6 separate regions of the Homo sapiens genome follow, and all the other regions are linked to region 2. The links are contacts of gene promoters, found by promoter capture Hi-C in blood cells and fetal thymus (Javierre and others, 2016). All regions are on one chromosome and are shown on one strand. Each heading gives the region's core, a stretch centred on a gene start or on the middle of the fragment in contact. The rest is flanking DNA. Distances are from core to core; before and after follow the strand shown.

The links. The method cuts DNA at HindIII sites, captures the fragments that hold promoters and counts their contacts. A CHiCAGO score of 5 or more calls a contact.
Region 1: a fragment that was not itself captured here is called in contact with the fragment with the promoter of RPS6KA1 in region 2 in 1 of 17 cell types (neutrophils); the score reaches 8.1 in neutrophils.
Region 3: a contact is called between a fragment that was not itself captured here and the fragment with the promoter of RPS6KA1 in region 2, in 3 of 17 cell types (erythroblasts, neutrophils and endothelial precursors). The highest score is 7.9, in erythroblasts.
Region 4: a contact is called between the fragment with the promoter of KDF1 here and the fragment with the promoter of RPS6KA1 in region 2, in 3 of 17 cell types (fetal thymus, endothelial precursors and non-activated CD4 T cells). The highest score is 6.9, in fetal thymus.
Region 5: a contact is called between the fragment with the promoter of PIGV here and the fragment with the promoter of RPS6KA1 in region 2, in 3 of 17 cell types (naive B cells, M1 macrophages and megakaryocytes). The highest score is 6.3, in naive B cells.
Region 6: the fragment with the promoter of GPN2 here is called in contact with the fragment with the promoter of RPS6KA1 in region 2 in 3 of 17 cell types (neutrophils, endothelial precursors and M1 macrophages); the score reaches 8.6 in neutrophils.

The regions. Positions count from the first base shown.
Region 1 is chr1:26,906,108-26,909,075 of GRCh38, reverse strand. It overlaps a transcript of NUDC not described here. Among named protein-coding and RNA genes, the nearest start is that of NR0B2, 6.4 kb to the left of the region's middle. RefSeq lists enhancers at 2,415-2,916, 2,954-2,968. The HindIII fragment of the contact is 8,297 bases long and covers 1-2,968 here.
Region 2 is chr1:26,528,188-26,531,058 of GRCh38, reverse strand. RPS6KA1 (ribosomal protein S6 kinase A1) reads right to left here and starts at 1,298. Exons shown (of 22, transcript NM_002953.4): 1 at 1,076-1,298. The coding sequence starts at 1,138. It overlaps LOC124903884 (a long non-coding RNA gene), which reads left to right. Exons shown (of 2, transcript XR_007065558.1): 2 at 498-1,939. RefSeq lists an enhancer at 1-692 and a silencer at 934-1,413. The HindIII fragment of the contact is 9,367 bases long and covers 1-2,409 here.
Region 3 is chr1:26,858,972-26,861,842 of GRCh38, reverse strand. No RefSeq gene overlaps it. Among named protein-coding and RNA genes, the nearest start is that of SFN, 2.7 kb to the left of the region's middle. The HindIII fragment of the contact is 2,023 bases long and covers 296-2,318 here.
Region 4 is chr1:26,959,033-26,961,918 of GRCh38, reverse strand. It overlaps KDF1 (keratinocyte differentiation factor 1), which reads left to right and starts at 1,451. Exons shown (of 4, transcript NM_152365.3): 1 at 1,451-1,569. RefSeq lists a silencer at 167-461 and an enhancer at 1,331-2,013. The HindIII fragment of the contact is 1,819 bases long and covers 1,192-2,886 here.
Region 5 is chr1:26,786,629-26,789,701 of GRCh38, reverse strand. PIGV (phosphatidylinositol glycan anchor biosynthesis class V) reads right to left here and starts at 1,752. Exons shown (of 4, transcript NM_017837.4): 1 at 1,434-1,752. RefSeq lists enhancers at 176-305, 1,113-1,312, 1,000-1,826, 1,873-2,312, 2,833-2,982 and a silencer at 1,613-1,822. The HindIII fragment of the contact is 3,281 bases long and covers 460-3,073 here.
Region 6 is chr1:26,888,704-26,892,034 of GRCh38, reverse strand. It overlaps GPN2 (GPN-loop GTPase 2), which reads left to right and starts at 1,752. Exons shown (of 5, transcript NM_018066.4): 1 at 1,752-2,349; 2 at 2,910-3,066. The coding sequence starts at 1,939. GPATCH3 (G-patch domain containing 3) reads left to right here. Exons shown (of 7, transcript NM_022078.3): 7 at 809-1,547. The coding sequence ends at 1,025. RefSeq lists enhancers at 1,409-1,678, 2,189-2,358, 1,714-2,591. The HindIII fragment of the contact is 6,723 bases long and covers 1-2,821 here.

The DNA.
Region 1 (2,968 bases), core at 400-2,899, 380 kb before region 2:
TTGAACCTGGGAGGTGGAGGTTGCAGTGAGCCGAGATCGCACCACTGCACTCCAGCTTGGGCGACAGAGTGAGACTCTGTCTCAAAAAAATTAAAAAATAAGGCCAGGCGGATCACGAGGTCGGAGTTCAAGACCAGCCTGGCCAAGATGGTGAAACACCGTCTCTACTAAAACAAAAATTAGCCAGGTGCGGTGGCTCCCAGCTACTCGGGAGGCCGAGGCACGAAAATCACTTGAACCCAGGTGGCAGAGGTTGCAGTGAATCGAGATTGCACCACTGCACTCCAGCCTGGGCGACAAAGTGAGACTCCATCTCAAAAAATAAATAAATAAAAGTAAAATAAAATAAAGTAAGCTAGGTATGGTGGCTTATGTCTGTAGTCCCAGCCACTCGAGAGGCTGAAGTGGGAGGATCACTTGAGCTGGGAGTTGGAGGCTGCAGTGAGCATGGGAGCATCACTGCACTCCAGCCTGGGTGACAGAGCAAGACCCTGTCTCAAAACAAATAAAAAAACAACAAGAAAAATCTCTACCTTGATCCTTTTCAAATTTCTTCCCTACCAATCCACATGGTTGGGGAGCTACACTTCTGTTTCTTGTCTGCGTTTCTTGAGTCATTCCCCGTGCCCTATTTCCTTGCCTTGAGCAAAGAACATAAAGACAAATATGGCAAAACTAAAGAGATAATTACGGTACAATGTGGTAAGGGGAATCGTGCTTTCTCCATGAGACTGTAGGCTTTCCAAAAGTGGGGAAGTATGTCTCCATGATCAGCATCCTGGGTTGGGATCTGTGTCTCATTGCCAGTGAGGGAAGAGGAGGAAACAGGCTCAGATGGCGTATGTAACTTAAGGTCTGGGCTGATCACTGTCTGTGCTAAGACTCTTTTTTTTTTTTAGATGGAGTTTCACTCTTGCTGCCCAGGCTGGAGTGCAGTGGCGCGATCTCGGCTCACTGCAACCTCCGCCTCCCGGGTTCAAGCAATTCCGTTGCTTCAGCCTCCCAAGTAGCTGGGATTACAGGCACCCACCACCACGCCTGGCTAATTTTTGTATTTTTAGTAGAGACAGAGTTTCACGATGTTGGCCAGGCTAGTCTCAAACTCCTGACCTCAGGTGATCCACCTGCCTTGGCCTTCCAAAGTGCTGGGATTACAGGCATGAGCCACCGCACCTGGCCTGTGCTGAGACTTGTACTCAAACCTGTGAAGTTCTGGAGGGTTCTTGTCAGCAGCACAAGCTGGAGTGAGTCATGGCCAGGATCAAGCGGTCTGGAACCAGCTCAGCCACTGTTGACTGACCATCTACCTCTGAGCCATGATTCCTGTCCTCAGGCCCAGCCAGGGATGACTCACTGGAAAGCAGGAGAGTGGCTGTGGCTCTGGGTCAGCCTAGAGTACCATTTTATTGCCATCATTATCTCTATCTTCATTAGCCAAATCGTTGACTGCCTATTAAGTAGTCAGACAGCTGACGCATGCTGTGTCCCGCATTAACTCCACCCTGTCCTTGGGGCATTCAAATATCCTAGAACCCGTGATGCTGGCAAAAAGCCAACACCCACTATCCATCCATTAATTCATTCTATCACTCAATGTCTCTCAACCTCCATTTGTACCAACCCCTGTACTAGATGCTGGGGTAGGGGGCACAGAATAAATAAGATACATTTCTTACTCTCATGAAACATCTTGTCTGTGGCAGAGGAAGACATGTAAGTAATTGTAATGCAGAGTGATCTGAGCTGTGATAGGGGTACATACAACAGGCAACAGGAGAGATTAAATCTGCCTGAAGGTGGGAAAAATGCTTTACCCAAGTGGTGACTGGTTTGAGCTAAAGAGAATGAACAGGGTTTTGCTAGGCAACCCAAGGGATGGGCATTCCAAACAGATATATGCAAAGGCACAGAGATGTCAGAGAGCAAGAGGTGCTTAGTTAACTGCAAGTGATGTGTGGGGCCCAGGGTAGGAGGAAATGGGCCTGGAGAGATGACAGGGACCACCTCACAGAACAAGACAGCAAAGAAAGGAAATCCCAATGAAACTGGTGGAGGCGACAATGCTAAGATCTCAGGGGAGTCAGAGTTAACAAAGGAGACCTCCTCTTCCTGGCAGGGTATGGCCAGAAGAAACCCCAGGCTGTGGGTGCTCACTCTGGGTAGCTACTAAACTATAACCACATTAACATTTATTTATTTATTTATTTTTATTATTATTATTTTTTTTGAGACGGAGTCTTGCTCATTCGCCCAGGCTGGAGTGCAGTGGTGCAATCTCAGCTCACTGCAAGCTCCACTTCCCGGGTTCACACCATTCTCCTGCCTCAGCCTCCCGAGTAGCTGGGACTACAGGCGCCCGCCACCACGCCCGGCCAATTTTTTGTATTTTTAGTAGAGACAGGGTTTCACCATGTTAGCCAGGATGGTCTTGATCTCCTGACCTCATGATCCGCCTGCCTTGGCCTCCCAAAGTGCTGGGATTACGGGTGTGAGCCACCACGCCCGGCCCACGTAACATTTATTGAGAGCTGTGCTCTAAACACATTTCCTGGATTATGGTATTTCACTCTCACAACTCTGTGCTGGAAGTACTATCATTATCTCCAACCGCTTTATCTTTCTTTTTGAGACACAGTCTCATTCTGTTGCCCAGGGTGGAGTGCTGTGGTGCGATCTCGGCTCACTGCAACCTCCTGGGTTCAAGCGGTTCTTGTGCCTCAGTTTCCCGAGTAGCTGGGATTACAGGCATGCGCCACCACACCCAGCTAATGCTTTTTGTATTTTTTCGTTTTTTTTTGAGACAGAGTCTCACTCTCTTGCCCAGGGTGGAGTTCAGTGGCGCGATCTCAGCTCACCGCAACCTCCACCTCCCAGATTCAAATGATTCTCCTGCCCAACCTCCCAAGTAGCTGGGATTACAGGCATGCGCCACCACGCCCTGCTAATTGTGTATTTTTAGTAGAGACGG
Region 2 (2,871 bases), core at 49-2,548:
TGGTGGCTGCCCTAGGTAAGAGAGGGCAGAGGAGGGGACTGAGACAGGGGCTCCAGGCCCAAGCTGGGAGAAAGTCATCTCAGCTCCTGGGCTCAAATGAGGTCTCCATTCCCTCCCTGCATACCCCCAACAACCACCTGGGAAGGAGAATATCACCTGCTTCCTTCCCAGCAAGAGGTTAAGGAGGAAGTTTTCCACCAGCTCATTCAGGGGCTTGACCTTGACCCTGGGGTCAAAAGGCACAGGAAGAGGTGGCCTTCTGCACGCTTAGGGACTGGAGCCACAGAGCCCTCAAGGGAGGTCAGGAGCTGCTTCTGAGAGAGAAGGAGCTGGGTTGTCTGGGGAGTCTGGGCTGGCAGAAGCCAAACTCCCCAAGGGCCCAGCCCTTCCTACCGGAAGGGGCATAAGAAGGGAGGCAGGCACCAAGGTCCCCCCACGCCCTGCCAGGAATCATCTTCACAAGGTCTAAGGGCTCTTCCCCACTCTCGTCTCCACAGCCTGGGGTAGGGCACACAGGTGTCCTCTGGCCCTAGCCTCAGGGCAAAGAAAACCAGGAGTTCCAGCCCCAGACGGGTGGTGCCATCCCACACTCCGCATCCGCCAGGGGTCAAGAGGAGCAATCCTTCTAGGCTCAGCAGCGGTGAAGCCAGAAGCAGGGAGCTCTTGGCGGAGGGCCCTGGGAGAAGTGGGGGTCCCATAACCCCTGTCTCTGGTAGAATCCCAGACATCTGGCACTGAAGATCTCCCCGTCTGCATTAATGGAGGAAGCTCCGACAGCTCTGGACAGATGCCGGGACGGGTCCTAGGTGTGGGGTGAAGGCGACCAGATCTCAGCGCCCCATAGGATCCCCTCTCCTGGCTATGGCGGGGAGGTAGTCGGCGCTTGGCGGAACTGTCCCTCGCACACGCACACCCGGGCATAGGGGGGTGGAGCCGGACAGTGGGCAAGAGATCGGAGGGCACTCGCGCCCTCGCGGGCGCCCGCCGGACTGCAGCGGCGCTTCGGGCCGCCCCGCCCCTGTGAGGATCCGGGCTCGCCGGCCGCGGGCGCCCGTCCCCCGCCCCGCTCACTCACCTCCGGGTCCAGAGGCACTAGCTCCATGAGCGGCCAGGGCTCCTTGAGCTGGGCGAGCGGCATCTCGCCGCCGCCAGGTCACCCGCGCTCCTCCGGCGGCCCCGGCTGCGCCGCCTCCCGGGTCCTGGGGTCCCTGGCTCTGCGACCCGAACCGCCGCGCCCCCCCGAGCCCCTCGCGCTCCGGCTGGGCCGTCCGCCGCCGCCGCCGCGGCACTAGCACTTCGGCTCCCTCCGTCACCCGGCGCCGCCGCGCCCATTGGCTACCTGCGCGGGGGCGGAGCCGGAGAAGCCCCGCCCCAGCCCCCGCGGCGCGGCATTCCCAGCGCGGACCCCCGCCCCCGCCGCGCCCCGAGGGCCGGCCCCGCCCCTGCCGCGAGCCCCCGGCCCGCGCTCGGCTCCGCCGGAGAGGCCCTGCTGGCTCCTTCCCTTCCAGTGGTGTACCCCTGGACACACCACACCAGGGCCACCGTTCTCCCCCGCTCAGCTCTTTTGGAATCCCAGCCCAGATGTTCCTTCTCCTTCCAACGGGAGAGAAGCACCTTATCCCCGACCCCAGCACACACATTCACACTGGGTTCCTGGGCCTGATCTAGGCTGAGGCTTGGAAGGAGCCTGAGACCCACTCCCCTTAGGCCCTCAACTCACCAGGCCCTAGAGATCCCCTATCCTCTAATTTCTACCCCGCCCTGAAGCTAACACTGTGATCTCCGGGCGATCTCAGTGCCCCAGGCCAAGATGGGCATCAGCAGTTGTTACCACCATCAGGACCCATAGTGCCACCACAGAGTGATTGATTGATCGATTGATTTTACATAATGTATATAAATATTACATATATAAATAAATATGTATAAATAAATATTATATATATGCACATATATGTATGTATGTGTGTATATAGTGAGAGAGAGAGAGACACGAAGTTTCGCTTTGTTACCTAGGCTGGTCTCTGACTCCCCGGCTCAAGTGATCCTCCTGCCTCGGCCTCCCAAAGTGCTGGGATTACAGGCATGAGCCACCGCGCCCGGCCAAGAGTGATTTCTTAATATGCGTTTTTGCAATCTGTGCTCTGCCCTATCACTTGAAGGGGGTCCTTTCAGGTCAGGTCTCCCTGGAGTCACCTGCAGCCCCAGCTCTGGACTAGTTTGGGTTTGCGACTCTCTGAGGAGGGACCAGGCTCCCAGGATGAACCGAGGCTTGGTGGGACTTGGAGTGAAAGGCCAGGGAGACTGGTTGCCCCAGAGAGATTCAGCCTCCACCTAAAGAGCCTTAGGGGTCCGGGTGTGCTGAGATGTATTCACATGTGAGGAGTGAGCTTGCTGGAGGGACAAGCTTGCTGGTTTCGCAGGAAGACTGGTCAGTTATTTGCAAAGCTGTTCTAAGGCAGGGGAATGGGAAGGAATGTTTATCAAAAGCTTCCTGCGAGCCATGTGATTTCCTTGAATGATTACCACCACCTAGTTTACAAATCCTGAAACAAGCTCGGAAAGATGAAGTGACTTACCCAAGGTCACACAAGAGGTTGAGAACAGACTAGGGCTTAAAAAAATCAAAGTGTCACACCTGTAATCCCAGCACTGGGAGGCCGAGGCGGGCGGATCACGAGGTCAGGAGATTGAAACCATCCTGGCTAACATGATGAAACCCTGTCTCTACTAAAAATACAAAAAATTAGTAGGGCGTGGTGGCAGGCACCTGTAGTCCCAGCTACTCGGGAGGCTTAGGCAGGAGAATGGTGTGAACCCGGGAGGCGGAGCTTGCAGTAAGCGGAGATAGCCCCCACTGCACTCCAGCCT
Region 3 (2,871 bases), core at 58-2,557, 330 kb before region 2:
ATTGCCCAGGCAGGTCTCAAACTCCTGGGCTCAAGCGATCCTCCTGCCTCAGCCTCCCAAAGTGCTGGGATTATGGGCATGAGCCACTGTGCCTGGCCTGTTCCTTCCTTTTGACCATTGCCCCATCTCTGACCCCTGGCAGAGTCCTCAGAGATGGAGACCTCTGTTGCCAACGTTCTTTCCCTGCTTGCCGGAGCCCTGGCCTCAAGTTTCATCAAGAGTTTCACCTAAGGGTGTTGGCATTGAGCCTATAGGGATGGATTCCTGCTTATCTGCCCCACCCATAGCCAAAGCTTAGATGGGGCTCAGAGGTAGGGCTCCCTTCACTGGGATTCTGCCGACCTAATAGTTGAGCCAGGATAATTTCACAGGCCTGTGTCTCCCCCAGCTACTCTGAGTGTCTGAACACTCATCTTCCCTCCTGGAGGGAGGCTTAGGCCAGAACTCTGGGGACCAAAGACGAGATCCTTCTCTTTGCCACAAGGAGGAGTAGGGACATGTCTGGGCTAATGCTACAGGGTTTCCAAGGAAGTAAAGGGGATTTTAAGTTTGACGTCCCAAAGATTTTGCTCAAATCAGAGAACTGACACAGAAAACAATAGGAACCACACTAAAATACCAACTTCTAGAGGGTATCTTGAGGTAGTGAGAGTGAGTGATTTTGCTTCCCTTTGATTTTCTTTCTTCTCAATTTCCTTTTTAGAGATAGGGTCTTACTCTGATGTCCAGGCTGAAGTACAGTGGTATGATCACAGCTCACTGCAGTCTCAACCTCCTTGGCCTCAGGTGATCCTCCTGCCTCAGCTTCCTAAGAATAAGGTGCTCACCACAACGCCCAGCTAATTTTTGTATTTTTTTGTAGAGACAGGGTCTCACCATGTTGCCCAGGCTGGTCTCGAACTTCTGGGTTCAAGCAATCCTCCTGCCTTGGCTTCCCAAAGTGCTGGGATTACAGGTGTGAGTCACTACACCTGGCCCTTTTGATTTTCTTATTCTCTCCAATTTATAAATAGTGAATATAGGTCGGACGCGGTGGCTCACGCCTGTCATCTCAGCACTTTGGGAGGCTGAGGTGGGTGGATCACAAGGTCAGGAGATCGAGACCATTCTGGCTAACCCAGGAAAACCCTGTCTCTACTAAAAATACAAAAAATTAGCCGGGCATGGTGGCACATGCCTGTAGTCCCAGCTACTCGGGAGGCTGAGGCAGGAGAATCGCTTGAACCCGGGAGGCGGAGCTTGCAGTGAGCCGAGATGGCGCCACTGCACTCCAGCCTGGGTGACAGAGCAAGACTCCGTCTCAAAACAAAACAACAACAAAAAAGTGAATATGTATTGTTTGTCTATGAGATACAGAATAGACTAGTATCTTTGGAATCAGACTGCCTAAATGTAATTCTTATAGCTGTTTGTGGCCTTGGCCAAGTGATTTAAGCTCTGTGAGCCTCAGTTCCTGTAACTATAAAATGGGACTTGTGAGGATTACACGAGTTAATGGAAAGCACAGTAGAATGGATGGCAACTATTATTATTATTATTTTCTTTTTTTTGAGACGGAGTTTCGCTCTTGTCACCCAGGCTGGAGTGTAGTGGCACAATCTCAGCTCACTGCAACCTCCACCTCCTGGGTTCAAGTGATTCTCCTGCCTCAGCCTCCCGAGTAGCTGGGATTACAAGGGTGCACCACCACACCCAGCTAATTTTTGTATTTTTTTTTTTTTTAAGTAGAGATGTGGTTTCACCATGTTGGCCAGGCTGGTCTCGAACAGCTGACCTCAAGTGATCCACCTGCCTCAGCCTTCCAAAGTGCTGAAATTATAGGCATAAGCCACCATGCCCGGCCAGATGACAACTATTATTATCATGTGAAAAAATCCCGTCAACTTTATTATGATCAACATATACTCACAAAGCACTAACATAGAGTTAGGTTCTGTGAAATGAGGAAGGACCCCAAGCCAGGACTTAGCCAAAGGCCAGACCTTCCCAGCTGGGTGTCTACAGGGGAGAGGAAGCAGTTTGCCCATAGCCTTCTCTCTCCAGATGGATGAATGGCCAGATGTGCTCAGCACTGCCTCCTTCCTCTCCATCTAGGACAGGCGTGTCCAATCTTTTGGCTTCCCTGGGCCACATTGGAAGAATTGTCTTGGGCCACACATAAAATATACCAACACTACCAATAACTGATGAGCTAAAAAAAAAAAAAAATTTGCAAAAAAATCTCATAATGTTTTAAGAAAGTTTACTAATTTGTGTTGGGCTGCATTCAAAGCCATTCTGGGCCACATGCAGCCTGTGGGCCGTGGGTTGGACAAGCTTGATCTAGGATATTCCTGTGACCTCAGCAGGTCCTGGAACCTCAGGGGCCTTCATTTGTACTAGTCATCCAGCCGGGGCTTCCCCAAGTCCTGGGGAAAGCTGGAGATCCCAGGACACTGGGAACCTGGAAGGCAGGCCCAGGAACTTTGGAGCCTGAGTCCAGGGAGGGACCATTTGCTTCCCGCCACTTAAGCCAGAGGACCTGGTGGTGGTTCACGCCCTCCGCATAGCCATGAGCAAGGGCAAGGAAGCCCCTTCATTCCTACTCCTCCCCTGCTGGAGCTCAGGGGTGCATCTGGGAGCCAGGCTGCCTGATACCTCCTGCCCGCTCTGGCCTGTTGATCCTGACTCAGTTCCTGTCTCAGGTACCTCCCTTTGCCTCTGGGCCTCCATTTCCCAAGTTCAGGAGCTCAGACGGGCAGGAGGCAGCAGGCCCTGGCAGGGCATGGAGCTCCACAGTCAGCTGTCTGAGTCAGCAGGACAGGAGCTGGGGTTGCAGCTCAAAGGGGCTTTCCTCATTCTGCCTGCTACCTCCCCACCCTCCTGTACAGC
Region 4 (2,886 bases), core at 202-2,701, 430 kb before region 2:
TGGACAAGATGTGGTGGGAGGCGCTGGGATGGAGGGTCTCTGGTGGAAATTGAACACCTATGCCTAATGCATCCCAGTGATATCTTCCTGTTGCATCCATGATCTCTTTTAATCCTCCCAGTTAAAGAGAGGTACTACTATCTCCAGAGATTAGGTTTAGAGAAGGAAAGTGCCTTGCCAAAAGTCAGTTTGTGCCAACTGCCTGAGCAAACAATGTCCCCTCTCTAAGCTTCAGTTTCCTCTTACTGTAAAATGGATATGATAATACCTGACCCACTTCACAGATTAACGGCTTCGGCATGCATGGCTCCTGGAGATGCTCCCTAAAAGTCACTTGTTTGTTTGTTTGTTTTGTTTATTTGAGACAGAGTCTCGCTCTGTCGCCCAGGCTGGAGTGCAATGGCGCGATCTCGGCTCACTGCAACCTCTGCCTGCTGGGTTCAAGCCATTCTCCTGCCTCAGCCTCCCGAGTAGCTGGGATTACAGGCACTTGCTACCATGCTAGGCTAATTTTTTGTATTTTTAGTAGAGACTGGGTTTCACTATGTTGGCCAGGCTGGTCTCAAACTCCCACCTCGCGATCCTCCCGCCTCGGCCTCCCAAAGTGCTGGGATTACAGGCATGAGCCACTGCGCCCGGCCAAGTCACTTGTTTATTAATGCTATTGTTAAGTTATTGAGTTGTTATTAATATTAAGGGGAACAGTAACCCAGAATAGTCTGAGCCTTGCCTTATTGACATTCAATGGTGTTGCCTCTTGCAGAGACCTTTTTTGGATGTAGTGACCATGGCCCATTTTGGCCACCACTTCTGATCCTGGATGTATCTTTCAGAGCTGCATATCCGGTCCCCCTCCTCTACCCTACTCGGGGCCTCAGAGCTGAGGTTCCTGTCTTTACCTGCAGATTTCTCTGAACAAAAGAAAAGGTAAACTGATCAGCGGCCCAGGCTCCCAGTTCTGCCTCAGGGCAAAGGGAGAAATTGGGGCCCAGGGCCTCATTCAGTGGAAAATATTTGTTGAACACCTAGTATGTGCCAGGACCTGTGCTGAGCACCAGGAACACAGGGGAACAAGACCAAACCCTGCAAGGTAGGAGGCTAAAGGAGGAGACAGAAGACAACAAAACGACAGTGTGCTGAGTACAGGGACTGTTCTAACCAACAGAAAAACAGACAGGATCAGGGAAAGCTTCCCAGAAGAGAGCTTCCCTTTGAGTTGGAGCTTTACGGCCGGGCAGAAGTTCCACAGGTGCTCAGAGACTGACAGGACCACCAGCCTGTTGAACAGAAGAGGAGACTGAGCCCCAGCGCCTCTCGACCCCTCCCCGCCACACCTCACCTACCCGGACTAGGCTGAACGGGCCGAGCACTCGAGCGGGGACGCGCAGCTCTGCAGAGCCCCGGGGCGGGGCCTCGGTCCAGGTGCGCGGTAGCGCTTCGCGGAGGCAGGAAGTGTGTCCCTAGCGGCGGCCCGTGCAGCGCTCCCGCGAGACGCTCACCTGCGCCCCAGGTGAGCGGCGAGGGGGCGGGGGAGGGGCTGAGCCGGAGGCGGCTCACCTGGCGGGACAGGTAAGCCCGGCGCGGGCCCAGGGGGGCGCAAGCCAGGGCGGCGCCGGTGTCGGGAGCCCCCCGAAGCTGAGCCCGGACAGGAGAGGGTCCCGGGCCCGGTTCCTCGGGGGCCACCCTCCTACTTCCGGGGTGCGCGGGCCGGGCTGGGGAGCGGCCTGAGCGGGCGCCCGGGCTGGGCGCGCAGAATGGGGTGAGGGGCCGCGTTCGCCCTTAGGGCTGCACTGGCTGGGTGCGGGGGCCGCACTCACCGGGGGGCAGCGTCGGGATGGGACAAACGCTGGTGCTCACCCCGAGGAACAGCGTCGGGACGGGAGGGAGGCTGGGTCCGCCCGCGGGGTAGGGCCCTTGCAGCTGGAGAGGGTAGTGCTCGCCCCGAGGGCAGAGTTGGTGTAGGGGCTGTGGTAGCCCGGGGGACAGTGCCAGGATCTGGTTCTTCCTTGTCCCCAGGACTAGCTGCCCGCGGATATGGGACTCTCGGGCTGCACCTTTGGGGCAGGAGGCCGAGGGTGCACTGAGCCGACGGCTGTTTCTCGAGCAGGACTGGGGTGGTCCTCCCCGGCCGGGTGTCCGAGGCTTGGCACTGGGCTGGGGGCAGAGGCTGGTGCGGCCGGGCCTGTCCTGGGGACCCTCGGAGGAGGGGACGGTACATAGACCCTTGAGTGTGTGTGTGTGTTCGCGGGACTAAGGGGGAAGAGGAAAGCATCAACGAGAAATCCAGGGAGGGCGGGCCGGGACCCTCTGACCCCCGGGAACATCCTTGCGGTGCCTTAGATCGCCTAGTGACCTAGCCCCTCCCATGGGCAAGGCCACTGCGGGAAGCCCCCTGCACTCAATATTTCATTTAAATCTCACGGGATTGGCGGGGCATGAAGATACTAGTCTCTCCTTATTTAAAGATGAGGAAAGTGAGGTTAAGAATCTTGCCTCAAGCCACAATAGGGACAGGGAGTCTCCCCTCACTAAACCAAGTGACCAGGTTCCTAGGATTGGGCGGGGTGGTGGCGGGGCGGTGGCAGCAGGGTCGGGGAGATACAGCCTGGAAGAAACTGCCTGAGTTTGACTTCAGGAGGGTTCAATGGCTGGAGGGAAGTGGGGAACTGAGGCAGGCATTGTCCTTATCCCAGGTCTTCTCTTCTCATCCCACCACCGCTGGAGATGTGTGGCACACACAAAGTACGCAGGCTTCAGAGCCTGGCGGGCCACAGTGCAAATCTTACTCCAGCCCTCTCTTGCTAGGTGTCTCTGGGCCAGTCACTTCACCTTTCTGAGCTTCAGATTCCTGATCTGTGAAATGGAGATATACTACTTATTTTCAGA
Region 5 (3,073 bases), core at 503-3,002, 260 kb before region 2:
CTGATCCTCACTAGACAGTGTGCTATGCCCTCATTACATTCTGCCCTATTGCCGTTATTGCTATTGCTTATTTAAGTTGCTAAGGGCAGGGGCTTTACATCACAACTATATCCCAGGGCCTAGAACACAAATAGGCATCTTAAACCTGTGTTCTGAATGAATGGAAGTGGTAGGGACAGGATACAGCATCAGCAGTTCACTGACTCTAGATATGAAATCAGTGCCCCAAGTATTCTTCCCATCATATCTCATGTCAAGAGCAAGACGACAAAGTCACAGAAGCCACAGGAAAATAAAATTTCCCCAGAAAGGGAGCCAAGTTGGCCAATGGCAACAGTACTCTTTCCTTGGCACAAGGGGGCGCCTGCTGCTTACTCCATCGCCAGGAGGCCTGGAGGAAGGGAGGGGCCCCCAATTCCACACCGGTTGGCTCACGAAAATTCGGTTCAAAGGCAAGCTTCTGAAAGCCCCAGACAGTAACGATAGTTTGTGAATCTAAACGTTTCCAACGTATGACTCGCTGAATCGAGAGAAATCACGGAAATGGGCATACTCAACCTCACGCGGCTACTCCTTCCCTATCCTAGGGCGAATTCACTCTTTTTTCCTCTTCCTTGGCTTCCCACGCGCATGCAGAAGAGAAGCTGGGATCAGAAAAGCACCTAACCCACCTCTGCCACTTGACCATGCTTGCATTCTTCCTTTCCTCTCTCGAGTCAAGCTCTAGCCTCAGCGACTACAGATGTGTGTAGCCCACACTTTGCTTACAGGTAAACCAAGTAAAAACAAAGCTAGTCAATTCTCCCTCTCAGCTAATTGCCCACCTCACTTCCCAACAACCCCTTTGCCAAATCACAGACTCTTAACTGGCAGGACACTTACAGATCAACTAGTTTCACTCTTCAAAAATTTTCCCGTGAGATAAATAGGCTCCAGAGATCTCATCAGACACTGTGAGGCTAGTATAATTACCATCGCCATTTTATGGATATGGAAACTGAGGCTCACTGGGGTCAAGTGACGTACCCAGGGCTACTTAAAGAGGCTGTCATGTTTTCTGCTTCTTAAACCTCACGGTACCAGCCCGCATCCCTCGCCAAAGGGTACGCGCCCTTTCCGAGCCAGGATTATGACCCAGGTCACCCAAACGCCTAGCCCAGTACTTCCATGCCGCAGCCTGCCCTTGCTAGGTATGCTTAGGGTAGTTGGGCCCTATCTGAGAATCTGGGACATCCTGTTGAACGGCAGCTCTGGACCCTCTGGGTAAGACTAACACCCCCTGCGCAGGCTGGAGAAGTCGCTCTGACCCAGGGTCCTCAGAGCCAAAGGCCTCGTGGGGGCTGCCTTCTGTCAGCCCAGCCGTGTCCGCAACCCGTTTCTGGCCGGCTCCTTTTGGACACAGTCCCTTCTGGGTACTAATCATCCACGCTCACCCCAGAGGGGCCACGGCCCAAGGACCACTCCCGAGGGAGCCTGCAGAGCCCCACCAGGCCACAGGGCCGGAAGCAGACGAGGGCGGGAGGCTGGAAAGGAAGAGGCGGCGCCCGAGGCTGCTATGGCGGAGGGGCGGGGCTCCCCGCTTCTCCGGGCGTCTGTCTCATTTCTACCGGCTTCCATTTGACAGCTTCCCTCCCGCCAGAACTCCAGGGCTCCCAAGCTGGCGCGGGGTCCTCAGCCCCTGCCCGTCCCGACCTCCCCGGCGGGGACCGAACCTCAGCTCCTCCATCCGGGGCCCACGCGGCCCGCGCCTGCGCGCTGGCTCCGCCGACGGCGTCCCCGCCCCGCTCCTGCCCGGACTTGGAGCAGCCCCGCCTCCCTGCGCGGCGGCCATGTTGACTCCGGGCGAGCGGGATGGGGGTCGCCGCTCGGCGCCTCGCCTCGTAGCACCTTCCCACCTTGGTGACACCTGAAGAGTTCTCTCGCACTTCGCTCTCCTTCAAGGCCCCCCGCCACCCCGCCTTCAAATAGTGAGCGGAGGCTGCTGTCTCAGAGTCAGTGCTCTTGCCCCAGCTCCCGCTGACGTTCACTGAGTTCCCGGTGTGGGCCGAGGCTCTTGTAGTCGGAGGCTGACCCGCAGCCTCTTCACAGAAACCAGAGCCGCGCTCTTCCTGCTGTCAGGCAACAACAGCTCAGCACAGGGCCTGACACACAATAGATGTCCTCTGAATAGCCAAAGAAAAACATTCTTGGGGTTTCTGTGGCCGGCAGCGGCACCCTGCGTCCTGGGTGTGAAGAAAGTGGGGGATCCCCCTGATTTTCCCCTCCTCTATCTACCAGAGACCTTCTGTCCTACTTTAGTCCTCAGCCCCACCTCAGGTGGCTAATGAGGATGGTGAAGAAAACCTCAGAGAACACCCTCCAGGGCTCCTTTCACCTCCCTCACCCAAGCAGTTTCTCTCATAGGAAGTGGGGCCAAAAAAAGAAGAAAAAAAAAGAGGCGAACTCAACAAAACCGTCTATTGGGGGGAGCGGCCAGTTTGTACCCTTGTAACGGAAACTGTTAGAACAACTTTGCACCCTCCTTAAAGGAAACAGATGATAAATCCTTCTCCGTTGGTGGATTTCTTGTTTCTCAGGATTCCAAAGCCTTATGTGGTTTCAGTTATCTGCCCTCCAAACGAAGCCAGGGGCCGGGTTAGCCTCTGGCCACAGCCTGGCTCAGGGAGGGGTTTATCTTCTGCAACGGCTACTCATGTGGGTGGGAACAAAGAGATGGTTGCTACCTCTCCAGGCGAAGACCAGCCCACATCAGTCTGTGGGGGCCTGGGACTGTATCTCTTGACTCTGTAACTCATTTCAGGCCCTGAGACCTAAATTGCCTTCAGATATCTGTTGTGTGCAAGGTGGAGAAAAGGCAAATCATATTTAGTCGTTGTGTGTTGGAGAAGGGGGAAAAAATGGAGTTTCATGGCCCTTCCCCCAGGTTTTTCAGTGCCACGCACTTGTTCTCAGCTCCAGAGGCCTGTGAGTAACGTGGCAAAGCCTGGGGACACACTTGTGACTGGGGCCTAAGGCTGTGACTTGAATCTCTAGAAGTCCACCATGAGGCTCCAAGCAGCACTCTCTCTGCAAA
Region 6 (3,331 bases), core at 503-3,002, 360 kb before region 2:
CCCCGTCTCTACTAAAAATACAAAAATTAGCCGGGCGCAGTGGCTCATGCCTGTAATCCTAGCACTTTGGGAGGCTGAGGCGGGTGGATCACGAGGTCAGGAGTTTCAGACCAGCCTGATCAAGATGGTGAAACCCTGTGTCTACTAAAAATACAAAAAATTAGCTGGGCACGGTAGTGGGTGCCTGTAATCCCAGCTACTCAGGAGGCTGAGGCAGGAAAATCGCTTGAACCCAGGAGGCAGAGGTTGCAGTGAGCCAAGATGGCGCCACTGCACTCTAGCCTGGGTGACAGAGCAAGACTCTGTCACAAAAAAAAAAAATTAGCTGGGCATGGTGGCATGCGCCTGTAGTCCCAGCTACTCTGGAGGCTGAGGCAGGAGAATCGCTTGAACCCAGGAGGTGGAGGTTGCAGTGAGCCGAGATCACGCCATTACAATCCAGCCTGGGTGACATAGTGAGACCCCATCTCAGAAATAAATAAATAAATAAAGTAAATCTGACTTTTTTTTTTTTTTTAAAGAGTAAGCCCTAAGGCTTAACAAGATCATTCATACCCTTTGTTGGAGGAGTTTGGACTTGATGGTTACTATTAGGAAGTCTGTAGTGACAGAATGAAAATTTTATATGAGGCCCCTTCTTGCTGGCACTGTCAATGGATAGATAAGAGGGCTGGAGAACAAAGACCCAGATTTAAAGCCTCTGTCTTTGGACAAACCAGATATGTAGTAACTACTTCCCCGTCCTCTCCCAACCCCTTTAACTGGAGTTTGAGAGCAGCCTTCTCACTGAGAGCCCGTTTTTATCCAGGTACCATGGAGAGAAGCTACAGCCATTTGGGCAACTGAAGAGGCCCCGTAGAAATGGCTTGGGGCTCATCTCCACCATCTATGATGAGCCTCTACCCCAAGACCAGACGGAGTCACTGCTCCGCCGCCAGCCACCCACCAGCATGAAGTTTCGGACAGACATGGCCTTTGTGAGGGGTTCCAGTTGTGCTTCAGACAGCCCCTCATTGCCTGACTGACCGGGTTGGGGGCTTCCTTTCATAGCTACATGATGAAAACCCTCTGCCCTGGCCTCATCTACCACTGAAGCAGAAAGGAGTCTGGGAGCAGCAGTCTTCGTGGCTGGTTCAGGGTGTTTTGTTCCGAGCCTGCCTGCCTGCCGGTTCTATACCTCAGGGGCATTTTTACAAAAAGCCCCCTCCCGTCCCCTCCCCTTGGATATTAGGGGTAACGACCGCTTGTCTTTGGTCTCTAACCCTAATCTCTGGGCTTGCCCTTTGCCTCCTGCAGAACTTTGAAAAGCTGGGTTGAGTGAGGCTATCAGCACAGCCTTCCTTGGGGACTCTGAAGGTGTCCCCACGAAGGCCAGAAAGGGGGAAAGGGACCTGGGCGAGGAGAGGATTTGTGGTGCTTGGAAGAGCCGGCCTTGGGTGGGCCCTCCACCGCCTCTACCCTCACTGGGTGGGACTGCCAGCGGAGAGTCCGCGGGAGGTGGCTTGGGTGTGCGACGTCACGGAAGAATAAAGACGTTTACTACTGGAGCTCCCTTACTTTTCTAATTCGAGTCTGAAGGTTAGAGAAATTCCGAGAGCGATTTTCCCGCAAAGACCCCACATTCGACCCACTACCCGCGAGAGAAATGCGGCTGCGCCGCCCGCCCCTCGGCGTCTAGCTTCGTCCCCGCCGTGAGGGCGGGACTTCCTCTCGTTGGCTCGCCGTTTCCGACGCTGTCCGGAAGTCGAGTTAGTCTAGTTAGTATCGGCCTGTTATCTCCTTTTGCGCGACACGGTCTCAGCTGTTCCGCCTGAGGCGAGTGACGCTGGCCGCCAACGAGGTATACGTACTGGGACCCTCGCCCTCAGTCTCGTCTCCGGCGCGGCTACCTGCCCCGTTTTCCCTGTGAGTTGACCTGCTCCGGGCCGCGGGCCGCCAATGGCAGGGGCCGCTCCGACCACGGCCTTCGGGCAGGCGGTGATCGGCCCGCCGGGCTCAGGGAAGACCACGTACTGCCTGGGCATGAGTGAGTTCCTGCGCGCGCTGGGCCGGCGCGTGGCGGTGGTGAACCTGGACCCGGCCAACGAGGGGCTGCCGTACGAGTGTGCCGTGGACGTGGGCGAGCTGGTGGGGCTGGGCGACGTGATGGACGCGCTGCGCCTGGGGCCCAACGGCGGCCTGCTCTACTGCATGGAGTACCTGGAAGCCAACCTGGACTGGCTGCGTGCCAAGCTCGACCCCCTCCGCGGCCACTACTTCCTCTTCGACTGCCCAGGCCAGGTGGAGCTCTGCACGCATCACGGCGCCTTGCGCAGCATCTTCTCCCAAATGGCGCAGTGGGACCTCAGGGTGCGTCTCAGGGCGGGGAGGCCCATTTTGCGGATGGAGTAACTGAGACAGGGAGGACAGACGCCACGCCCCCATGTCACACAGGGAGGTAGGGGCTGGGTCGCTTTGGAGTAAAACAGGCATGAGTTCAGAATCTGGCTCTGCTACTGACTGGCTGTGTGGTGTTGATAAGTCAGTTCATCACTCTGAACCTCAGTTTCCTCACGTGTAAAATGTGTTAGTAGCCAACTTGGCGATTTTGGAAGTATGGAAGGGGTTAATGTCGAAAGTGGCATGGAGATTGTTGTAAATTGGTGGGCAAAAGTAAATGAAAGAGTGGAGTCAGATGCCATGGGATTTAAACCCCTTGCCCACTGGGAGGCTCAGTGCAAGACCTCTTGTAAGAAAAAAAAAATGACTCCTATTTCCTGGGAGAAGGAAACCAGGGTGGTTATTAGAAAGAAACAGAGGCAGGAGACTAATGGGGAAAGCTTCCCCTCTGTCCTCAAGCCCTCATTCTCATGAGGGAATGCTGATCCCTGTTTCTCCAGGCCACTCTCACCCTGTCTATTCCCTCCCAGCTGACTGCCGTCCACCTCGTGGATTCTCACTACTGCACAGACCCTGCCAAGTTCATTTCAGTACTGTGTACCTCCCTGGCCACCATGCTGCACGTGGAACTGCCCCACATCAACCTCCTTTCCAAGATGGACCTCATTGAGCATTATGGGAAGCTGGGTAAGAGCTTCTGTTCCAGGCGAAGAGCAGGGCAGCAGCTGGGCTAGAATGAAGCAGACATCTCAGCTGAAGGTAGCTGCCTCTGGTGCCTTGCGTGGTCTGGTGATAGTAGCCACAGGCAGGTTCTAACTCCTGCCCATTTATTTTGTGCCACTCTGTGCTAGTTACCGTTGTAGATTTTGGAGACAAGAGAGCTACAGATGGTGTTAGGTGTTACAAAGGAATTAAAGTGATACGACAGTGAATATTTGGGAGTGAAGTGAGT